Regions from separate parts of the Homo sapiens genome. Here regions 2 and 3 are each linked to region 1. Evidence: promoter capture Hi-C in 16 types of primary human blood cells and fetal thymus (Javierre and others, 2016). All regions are on one chromosome and are shown on one strand. The core of a region is centred on a gene start or on the middle of the fragment in contact, and the rest is flanking DNA. Distances in the headings are between cores, read along the strand shown.

The links. The method cuts DNA at HindIII sites, captures the fragments that hold promoters and counts their contacts. A CHiCAGO score of 5 or more calls a contact.
Region 2: the fragment with the promoter of MAN1A2 here is called in contact with the fragment with the promoter of ZNF697 in region 1 in 1 of 17 cell types (M2 macrophages); the score reaches 6.0 in M2 macrophages.
Region 3: a fragment that was not itself captured here is called in contact with the fragment with the promoter of ZNF697 in region 1 in 1 of 17 cell types (M2 macrophages); the score reaches 5.3 in M2 macrophages.

The regions. Positions count from the first base shown.
Region 1 is chr1:119,646,497-119,649,831 of GRCh38, reverse strand. ZNF697 (zinc finger protein 697) reads left to right here and starts at 1,566. Exons shown (of 3, transcript NM_001080470.2): 1 at 1,566-2,141. It overlaps LOC124904389 (a long non-coding RNA gene), which reads right to left and starts at 1,516. Exons shown (of 2, transcript XR_007066506.1): 1 at 1,445-1,516; 2 at 856-1,108. RefSeq lists enhancers at 1,489-1,558, 730-1,570 and silencers at 1,629-1,688, 1,986-2,149. The HindIII fragment of the contact is 7,030 bases long and covers 1-3,335 here.
Region 2 is chr1:117,365,622-117,368,956 of GRCh38, reverse strand. MAN1A2 (mannosidase alpha class 1A member 2) reads right to left here and starts at 1,508. Exons shown (of 13, transcript NM_006699.5): 1 at 472-1,508. The coding sequence starts at 773. RefSeq lists an enhancer at 443-582 and a silencer at 1,453-2,272. The HindIII fragment of the contact is 7,016 bases long and covers 4-3,335 here.
Region 3 is chr1:117,606,038-117,609,372 of GRCh38, reverse strand. TENT5C (terminal nucleotidyltransferase 5C) reads right to left here and starts at 3,325. Exons shown (of 2, transcript NM_017709.4): 1 at 3,220-3,325. RefSeq lists a silencer at 3,260-3,335. The HindIII fragment of the contact is 487 bases long and covers 1,454-1,940 here.

The sequences.
Region 1 (3,335 bases), core at 317-2,816:
TTTCGTAGAAACAGGGTCTCACTGTGTTGCCCAGGCTGGTCTTGAACTCCTGGGCTCAAGTGACCCTCCCACTTCGGCCTCCCAAAGTGCTGTGATTACAGGCATGAGCCACCAAGCCCAGAGACTTTTCTTTCTTTCTTTCTTTTTTTTTTTTGAGACGGAGTCTCACTTTGTTGCCCAGGCTGGAGTGCACTGACATGATCTCAGCTCACTGCAAGGTCTGCCTCCCAGGTTCATTCCAGTCTCCTGCCTCAGCCTCCCGAGTAGCTGGGACTACAGGTGCCCGCCACCACGCCCGGCTAATTTTTGGTGTTTTTTTTTTTAGTAGAGACGGGGTTTCACCGTATTAGCCAGGATGGTCTCCATCTCCTGACCTCGTAGTACGCCCGCCTCGGCCTCCCAAAGTGCTGGGATTACAGGCGTGAGCCACCGCGCCCGGCCTCCCAGAGACTTTTCTATCTGATTACTTTTCAAACACATTCTAGAGCATCCTAGAACTTGTCCTTTCCTAGTTCAGTTTATTACTTTCTGCTCATGCTCCAGGAGAGAATATAGCTTTTAGTCATTTAGTCTCTATGTGGTCCTTCCTTGATTTTCTAAGGGTCCTGAGTCTGTGGTCCCAGAAATAGACAAAAACATGTGCAGGGCATCATAGACTCTTGCTAGGCTGGAAGTAGAGTTCCTCTCTTGTAGCCAATGTCCTCTTCTCCTCACCCTTCCACTCCCGAAATACACACACTCAATATACAGTGGCCAGCACATCTGTTTTATGGGACCAAGAAGCTGAATCCTAAAGGTTAATGAAGGAAAGATACGCAGAAAGTCCAGCACTTTCCTAATTCAGCAGCACACAGGTTTTCACGTCTAATATTTAATTTACGTAATTTATTTTCAATCTCAATTTAATTGCTTTTCTTGAAAAGATGTTTGGGACAAGGTCAACAATGAGGGAGGAATGTCACCGGGTCGGGATCTGGAAACAATCAGCTCTGTATGGTTTTAAAGATGAAGCGCCAAGATCTTAAGGAACCTGAATTCCTGGTGAGCAATCAAGTTCTTTAATCGGCCCCCAGCAGGATGTCAACGGCGTAAAAGACAAAAAGAAAATCTATTTTAAAAGATAGATTTTGTGTTTTTAGATTAATTTTTAAAAAGCGAACCCACCACAAACTTCCCAGTTTTTAAAGAAAAGGCCTCTCCCACCGCAGAGCCCTCCCGAACCATGGGACAGCTCAGCGGCAGCGTCCCACCGGCTGCCCGCAACCGGTGCCGCGAGCTCGGAGTGCAGCGCTGGGATCTCGCGTGCTCCGGGACAGCGGGCTCCTTGAGCGCCGCGGGGCGGGGCGTGGGGCAAGACCCGCCGGCCGCTCCCTTCCCCACAGCGCTTAGAGAAGCAGCGAGCGCCTTTCCTCCTGTCCCGGAGTCCTAGCCTGGCCCGAGCTACCTCCAGGGCGCCCGCTGCTGCGGTGGCAGGAAGTCCCCGGGAACTACAAATCGAGGCATGCTGGGAACATTCTCCCGCTCCTCCCAGGAAATGTCCTTTGTCCAGCCCTACAGGAAGCCCCAGTGAGGAGTCAGCCGGGCAGCCAGCCAGCGAGCCAGCCAGCCAGCCAGCCAGCCAGCCAGCCAACCAGCCAGCCAGCGGGCCACCCAGCGGCCGCTGCAGCCGCCGCCGCCGCACAAGGGCAGACGCGCTGCGGTGCGGGGCTCGGGCCGGGGCGCTCGGTGCCCTAGCTCCTCGCCGCGCCAGCCGCCTCGCAGGTAGGAGCGTGGCTGTGGCTGGGCTCAACCGCCTCCCGGGGATGGGGCTGATCGGGACCAGACCCGACCGCTGCGGGGATGGGGTGTGTGTTCGAGTGCGGTGGCGGAACGGCTGGGCGAAGTTGTGCCTCGTAAAGTGGACCGTTGTCCGCTCCCCTGGGGCGCAGGGCCCCGGGCTTATGGGGTGCTCTCGCGCCCCCAAAGCCAGGACTGAGCTCCCTCAGGGGTATGTGGCGAGGGGCGGGGAGGAGGAGGCTGAGACTTGAGGGAGGAGACAGCGATGCAAGAGGGAATAGGACCGTCCCGCCGACCACCGAAGGGGGCATCAGAGACCCTCGGAGAAACCAAGCCCAGGGAGGAGCTTGGAAGGCAAGGAGAAGGTGAAGGGCTTTGTGTGCAGCTGTGGACCTTGACGGACTGCGCTCCCCTTGCCTTGTCTGTTCGTGCCTCCAGCCCCACTGGGGCTAAGGGAGGGTGGGGGGCTCCGAGAAGGGCAGGAGAGAGGCGGCAGGTCATCTTGGGTCCTAGTGAATGAAATGTGTGCCTCCCTTTTCCTCTCTTCTCCATTCTAGCCCACTCAAATGAGCGGCTTTGGGGCTGCCATCAGACCGGGCAAATGACACAATAAGGACGGGTGGGTGGAGAGATGGGCAGCAGCTCGCAGCCCAAGAGGGGTGGCCGTCTAGCCCCGGGAGGCATTCCAACCACACGTGTCCATGTAGGTAGGTGGTGGGGTGGTGGGCAAAGCTGGAACCTGCACCTCGCGGGGATGCCGAGGCTCAGGATTGTGCATGGAGGCACGGGTGAGGCGCGTGTTGGGAGGAGTGGGTGAGTAAAAGGTTGAGGGGGAGCAGCGACACAGAGGCGCTGAGTGTACCTTATGGCCAATGTACATTATGGCCATGCATCGGGAACTGACTACCACTTCCTCTGGGACTTTCCACGATTTTCCTTTTTCCTAACCGCCTCCCCCAACCGCCCCCGCCCTGCCTCCCCCACAGGAGTGAATCACCCACCCCTTACTACATGAACCCTGGGCTGAATTGAAGTTGGTGATGTATCCCTGTCCTTGTAGTGGGCATGTTTGTCCTTAACCTGTAGGATGACACCAATACTCCGCATCCCCTACTGCGTTACCCTCCTCCCTCAAGACTGAGCGTCTGGTAAATGCGGTTGGATAATGGCTAGCGAGTTAAATGTCTTTGAGTAGCTGTGGTGGATGAGTGGGCAACTTTGAATACAGTCCAAGTGTGACTGTTGTAACTGAACTCAGCATGCCTAAGGGGCCACACTCACTATCTCTCCTTTCTCCCCTCACCTGATTTTTTGTTGATGCCCCCAACTGTTTACCTTCTTCTCTCAACAAGCCAACATGTGGATATTATTTAATGTGGAATACGTTTGAGGAACCAAATGAACCTTTAAGAATGCCACTTATATGGCCAGGCAGGAGTATGCAAGGCTCATGGTCGAAAGAATGATGCTGTAGGACATGGAGAGAGCCCTGAGCCTGATATAAATGGCTTTCGAGGTGAAACAAAACATTTCTTCCTTAGCTTCTTTGGGAGAGATGA
Region 2 (3,335 bases), core at 259-2,758, 2.3 Mb after region 1:
GCTTCAACTACAAGCCAGAAAACGAGAGCCCTCTGGGAGAGCACACCCAAAAGAGCTGTCAAGGTTCGATGCTTTGATTTCACATGGTGGCACAATGACTGACTCCAACACGTTATTAATAAATGCAGGCACAGCTTATGTCACCATTTCTTTAGGTTAAGTTTTCATACCTCCCTTCCCAGATGTCCACATTAGACACAACTCTGAACGCAAATGTTTTTCTTATATAAAACCGAAGAGAAGAACGACTTAGGTAGGACTCCAGTCCTACCAGTCTATGGACTCTACCATAGACTGGAGGTAGAGTCCCTCCAGTCTATGGTTTTATTCAGCCAGTCTTGAAGTAACAATACAATATTTATGACTCGAAAAATTACATTTTACTGCAAGAAAAAAAAAAGACAGATTCGATCCAATCACCGTACCTTGCTCTGCCAAATGTTAGTACCAGAACTTCTGAAATAAACAAACCTGTGTCTATGTTCATCGGGTCCATGGATCAGGAAGACTCCGGGGTTTTTAGCCCCTTTACCGGCATCTACATGTGGAATTAACACATCTTCTAAACCCAAATCAAAGCGTTTGTGTTTTGAAGAGTCTGGAAGGAAAAAGAATGCCCCAAAACACAGAGTGATGAAGGCACTAAGAATAAGGAGAAGAATAAACTTCTCAGAAAGTCTCAAGGTAGCCCTGTGATGTGGGAAGGAAGGCGGCCCCAGGTTCAGAGGTGGTATCCTACGTCCAGAGAGGGGCAGCAGGGCTGGGGTAGTCATCGTTTACGCTCTTGGAGAGAATACTTTAGAAAGTTCTCATCTTATGTCAAATGTAGAATACATTGAACTGTCTTCAAAATCTTGGCCAAAATGGGAAAACTCAATTTTGCTCCTCTTAAAGGACTGTTGTGCTTTTTAAGAGGGCACGTCATTCACGCCCATCCATTCCCACTCAGAAACGTGTGTGACCTCCCCCAAACGATCACAAGTTTAGGTCCTGCGATATCCTCTTCAACATCTGTACTTCATCGGATTATTACAAGCCTCCTCTTCATTCCTAGGGGTAGATCAGGCAAGCCACACTGCAGAAAAGCTGCAAGGTGGGTTCTTCCATTCCTGCACCTCAGTGAGATGCTCAAACGTAGTCTTCCGCCCCGAAAGGGAGACTGGCGACATCCGAGGAGTTGTAGAAGGTTCACTTGATCTCCTTCGACGCTTCTATTCCAGAATCTCTTAACCTTAGCGGTGGAAAAAATAAGGGTCTCCCACGGACGTCTGCAAACAGGGAGGAAGGTCTCCCACTTCGCTGGGAAGCCGAAGCAGCGGCGCTGGGCGAAGTAGCAGGAAGGAGTTCTCGGCCGCCCGCGCTTCCCGGCGCTGCCTGGCAGGAACCTGGCGCCCGGCTGAGTCCCGCTGCTGCCCACTCGACGGCTGGCGCGAAGGGCAATAGCGTCCGAAACACCTGAGTCCGGCCAGCCGCCGCGGCCGCCGCCGCTGTTGCTACCGCACGGGTCTGTCAGGGAGCGGAACTTCCTCCTCCGGCGGCCACTGAGAAGCCCCGGCGTGTCCTGGGGGAGGGGAGGCGCGGCGGCCGCCCCCGCCGAGCTCCTCCTCCTCCTCCTCCTCCTCTTCCTCCTCCTCCTCCTCCTCTCCGCGGCCGGTTCAGTGAACCCCGGCGCCTGCTCCCCGAGCTAGGCCGCCGGCCGCAGTGGCCGAGCCCTCGCGCCTAAGAAGCCGAGCCGGGGCCCACGCTCCGAGAGCCCGGGGTAGGCGCCGGCTCATTCCTCACTCAGCCCTGGAGCGGCGGGAGGGCCTGGGCGCGCGGGAGCAGCCGCGCCTCGGGCGGGCAGAGGTCGGCCGCGTCTCCTTCCTGCCCGGCCGCGGGGGCCTCCTCCGCGCCGCCTCCGGTGGCTCGCAGCTGCTGGCTCTGGCGGCGGCTGCCAGAGAGGCAGCGCGCCCACGCCGCTCGGGGCTGCGGCCCGGTCCCCGTACCCTGCCTCCCCAGGCCTGGTGAGCGCAGCAGCTGCTGGGCCGACACCCGTTGGGCTCACGCCGGAGAGGAACCGGAGGGCGGGGGCGATGGGACCCGGGCCGGCCTACCGGCCCCGGCTCGCGAGTGGGCGTCCCCGGGCGGCGGAGTGTGAGGTGCGCGCGCACGCTCCCGGCTCCGCTGCCGCCGCCCCTCCCCCACCCAGCCTGGCTGCCCGGGCTCCGGCCTCGCGCCGCTGCCGGCTCCAGCAGCCCGAAAGCGTACTGCTGCCGCCGCCGTCTGAGCGCGAAAGAAGAGAAGGTCGCCGATCTGCGCTGCCACGAGAACTTCACCGGTGCCCAGGGCCTTGCCACCGCCAGTTCGTGGGGTTGACCCAGCGTTTGGGCGAGAGGGAGCGAGGGGTTGGGTCGCGAAGGTTTCGCTGAAATGTAGTGTCACCGGAGTTAATGGCTTCTGATGGCTTAGGTTAACGTTTACTGTGATTCTTTGGAAGTCTTGTCTTCAGCGATAGACCGTCAGGCCCGAGGATTCAGCAACAGGGTCTCAAACTTCCACGCAGCAGCCCATGCTCACGTTATTGGGCCCCCGAGGCTCGATTAATAGAGCACCAACATGTGCCATGTTACGTTTTTAAAATAAAGTGGTGACCCTGCTCCTTCAGCTGGGCTTCCTTTCAGAGGAATCTAGGTACCCCCGATATGACAGGCGTCTCTTCATTGTTCAGTTTCTGGGGCACGTTCTATCATCTTCACACACCTCATCAACCCCCTTCCCATAAAAGAGAAAATGGATGAATAAGGAGGTGCTGAAACCCAAAAAGGCGACAATATTGTTTACGTTCAGGCTTAAAAACAATCTGAATCAATTCTGTTCTCCGTAGTATTGAGGAGAGCCATGTTGTGATTAAGTGCAAAAGATTTCCTTGCAAGATACATAGACTCTTGCATCCGATTTACTTGCAGGTTGTTTTTGTTCTAATATTGTCATTCCCTGTACACATCCTTTACTGATGACTGGGAATTGGAGAGGAGGCCCTTAAATGTCAGGAGAGTAAGTCAGCCTTAGCTTAAAAATCAAGCAGAAAAGTCTCATGTTCATTGGCACACTTGTAACTACATTCCAGTCTCCCAGTCTGCATTATTTCTAGAAGCTCTGCATATCTAACTGCCTACCACATGACAAAAGTCATTGTCATTGATCCTGCTTCACCAAATAAAAAGTAAAAATATTGAGGGCCACCTCTCACCAGTTCACCCAGGGAGACTGGTAAGCAAGGAGTGCCCGGTCCCTAGTGAGATTTATGTTGAACATTTGTGAAGAGTAGATATAAGAAACTTTTAGCCTTCCCAATA
Region 3 (3,335 bases), core at 448-2,947, 2.0 Mb after region 1:
GTTTTCAAACAGTTCTAGAACAGACTGTGGGGGCCAGCTGTACAAAATCTATTAATTCTGAACAATTCTTAAGGCTTCCTTACCTAGTTGAACTATATAAAGATGCTTCCTCTAAACTATTTGAATTCCAAATGCAAGCCTCTTTATGCGGCCTGCAATGAAAGCGTAAAAACGTTTTGAGAGATCTTATGGCCTGAAAACATCACAAGAAATCAGCAGTACTAATGTACCCAAGCAGCTTTAAACACATGAACATTTCTTTAAACACAGAGGTGTCTGCTTCATTGTAATACAATTTATGCCATTTTAATGTACTATAGTCAAAACACCAAGATGGCAGGAAGCATTTTCCTACAGTGCCTTGTTTACCTCAATGACAACACAAAAAGCAACAGACCTTATCTAACCCAAGTAATGTTTTATTCCAAGTAACCTCACATTCCACATTACTCCTTAACTCCTAAACACACACACATGCACACAAAATAGCAGATACACCCAGAGACAGGTGTGAAACCAAGAAACCCCAAAACATAAGTTTAGCTTAACTCATGAAACTAGTTTTGGGCTTCCACGACTTCTCTCAGTAATGCAAAAAAAAAAAAAAAAGGTTCAACTCATCCACTGAGAGCCTTTGGGTTTCCATTTCTTTAGTAGGTAACTCCATGAACACAACATTGATCAGAGACAAAAGATGAAGACAAGGTCCTATGTACTTGAGCAGTAAAAACAACAAAAAAAGTTTTTTAAATGAAGTTTTTAAATTTTCTATCAAATGTGTCTGGTTAATGGTACTGTGAAAACAAGAGCACTACAGCCCACTTTTAAGTTATTTTTACTGCTGCACTGTTCCTTGGACTTTCAGAAATATGAGGAATTCTGTTCTCTGACCGGCAGCGCAAGATGTGCATGATCTGCCCTGGCCTTGAACACGGGGGAATGTGGGCTGAATGTGTGCACTATGGGGAGATACAGCTGAGGGGGGACGGGCCTCTGGAACTCGGGAGATTTCAGTGGCTACTTGTGCTCACGGTACAAGAGAAGAAACCAGGTAGAGATAGCCACAGGTGCACAACTAAGTCATGCTCACTCTGACAAGCAGGCTAAGAGCCAAATCCTTTCCTTCAGAATTACATGAATTTAATCCCTGGATACAAGGTAGGTATTGTGGAAAAAACAGCGTAAGAAATATGGCTGTTAATTCTATGTGCTCACTGAAGCTGCTTATGAAATTAGGGATCTTTGTTTTGGTAACAATTTAGAGGCCTCCTGGCAGAGTTTTTTTTTTTTTTTAAACTTTGTTATGGGAGCCCCCTACCCCCGCATAGCTACCTGAACAATTATATACAATATACCAAAATCTTCCTAAAAACTCTTTATTGAGAATATATGTACTCTAAAGCTATGGGTATACCTTAAGAGAAAAAGTTCATTATCTGAAATAAACTAAGCTTGACTCCAGAGATCATTTTCCATCTTCACAAACAAGAATGTCAAAGGACAGAACCCCTGCAGCCCAGCTCAGAGGTTTCCCTAAAAGCCCAGAGAAAAGTCAGCATTCTTTACTCCCCATCCCCCTCCCCCTTTTCCACTGCAGGGCCTAACGTGGCTGGTCTCACACCCTCAATAATACCCTTGGGGATTTAAGACAGTAAAATTCTGGGTAAGCTCTCCTACCACTCTTGCGGCTGCCCAACTTACTTCCTGGGCTCATTTCCTTGCCAATTTACTCACGTTGAAAGGTTGCTGTCGCCAACAACGGTCACCCTCTTTCCTGCACGCAGAGGGCAGCTGAGCCAGCCAGAAGTGTACTTTGGGAGGATCTAATCACCCTAACTTTATTTCCTGGGCTGGTTCAGTCTCCTAACCCACCTACAAAGTAACCTGAAGACCAAGTTGTCACAATACAAATAATTATGCACATAGTATTTATAAAAGCTTTCTTACTATAAGTGCATTTTAAGCACTTCATTTGTATGCACTTTATATCTCCGTAAGAAAGCAAAAATGTTAAAAAGGAAGCAGGCCCCTACTTAATTAAGCCAGGGAACTGGTTAGAGCCCTACAAAAGCCTACCTATGGACAAAAAAGGGCGAAGGGGAAGGGAGCTGACACTATCCCTCCCGCAGGGTCCAGCCCTAATAGTGGGTTCTCCAGAAGCTCGCCAGGCATTCATTTCTCCAGGGGAGCGCCCTTACTTGGAGGTAGCGCTGCTTGGTTTTCTCGCCCGCCAGCGTTGAGTTCAGGTGTGCAGGCTACCAACCTGTATTCTTCAGGTAAGTCACCCTCCTCTGACTCGCCTCCCACCCTGCTCCCTCCTGCCTCGCGACCAGTGCGAAGGGAGTCCCCGAACTGCGACACCTCCCGGGGCAGCCGCACCGGTATCCGTCCGAGTCGACCCACTTGCCGTGGCTTTTCACCTACGCAGTAAAGCAAGTTTCATTTTCAAAAGGAGAGGAAGCAGGTTTCACAGACACCGCATTCCCAAGAAGTTTCTGAGAGACGCGCAGCGCACAAGTCACTGGCTTGGATCCCTTTGCTGCTCATGGTGTCCACAGTCTGATGTGAGCGCATTAAATTTAAGGATCTCCGCCCTTCTCCTTAAAACTCAGGACTTGGCAATGAGCCTAGGAAGCGCCCCTCCCCTCCCCAACCAGATCCAAGCCCCGGACCGCTGCGTCTCCAGCTGCGCCTAGTGAAACCGCCGAATTCGAATTCACACTCGGCGGGCCGGCGAAGGTGTGCGCGCCCGCGGGAGCGCCGGGGCGAGCCCGAGGGACTGCAAGCCAGGAAGGGAGGCATGGGTGGCGGGGGGCGCCGTCTGATCCAGGTAGGAGCGGAGGCGCCGATCACACACTCTTCAGACGCCCTGCCCGCGCCTGGCCAGCGCGCAGCCTGCAGGACGCGCGGAGCAGGAACTCGCTGGAGTTTGCCAAGCCCCAGGTCTCTGGAAAGTTGTAGCTCCCTTTCGGAGCGTCTCTTCTGGCCCTTTGGGACGGGTGTGTCAGGGGCGGGGGTCCTCGAGGGAGCAGGAGGGGAAAGGAGCACCGGGTCTCGGCACCTGTCCGCAGCTCCCCTCGGGTCCGCCTGCCCCCTACCAGGCTGGGCAAAGACCTGAGCACCACTTAGTGGGGGCGGACCCCCACTAAGTGAGCTCGCGGCTCCCTGGGGCTGCTGCCGCATCGCCGCACCTTTAGAGGAGGGGGGTCGCGGACTCACCTGGGCAATAGAAGAGGAGGCGACAGAGGCAGGTCCTTGGCGTGGGCAGGCCCCAGCAGGAGCGGCGCGACCTCTACAGCCCCTAGGCAGCGGCACCGAGTGAGCCGTCCCGCCGC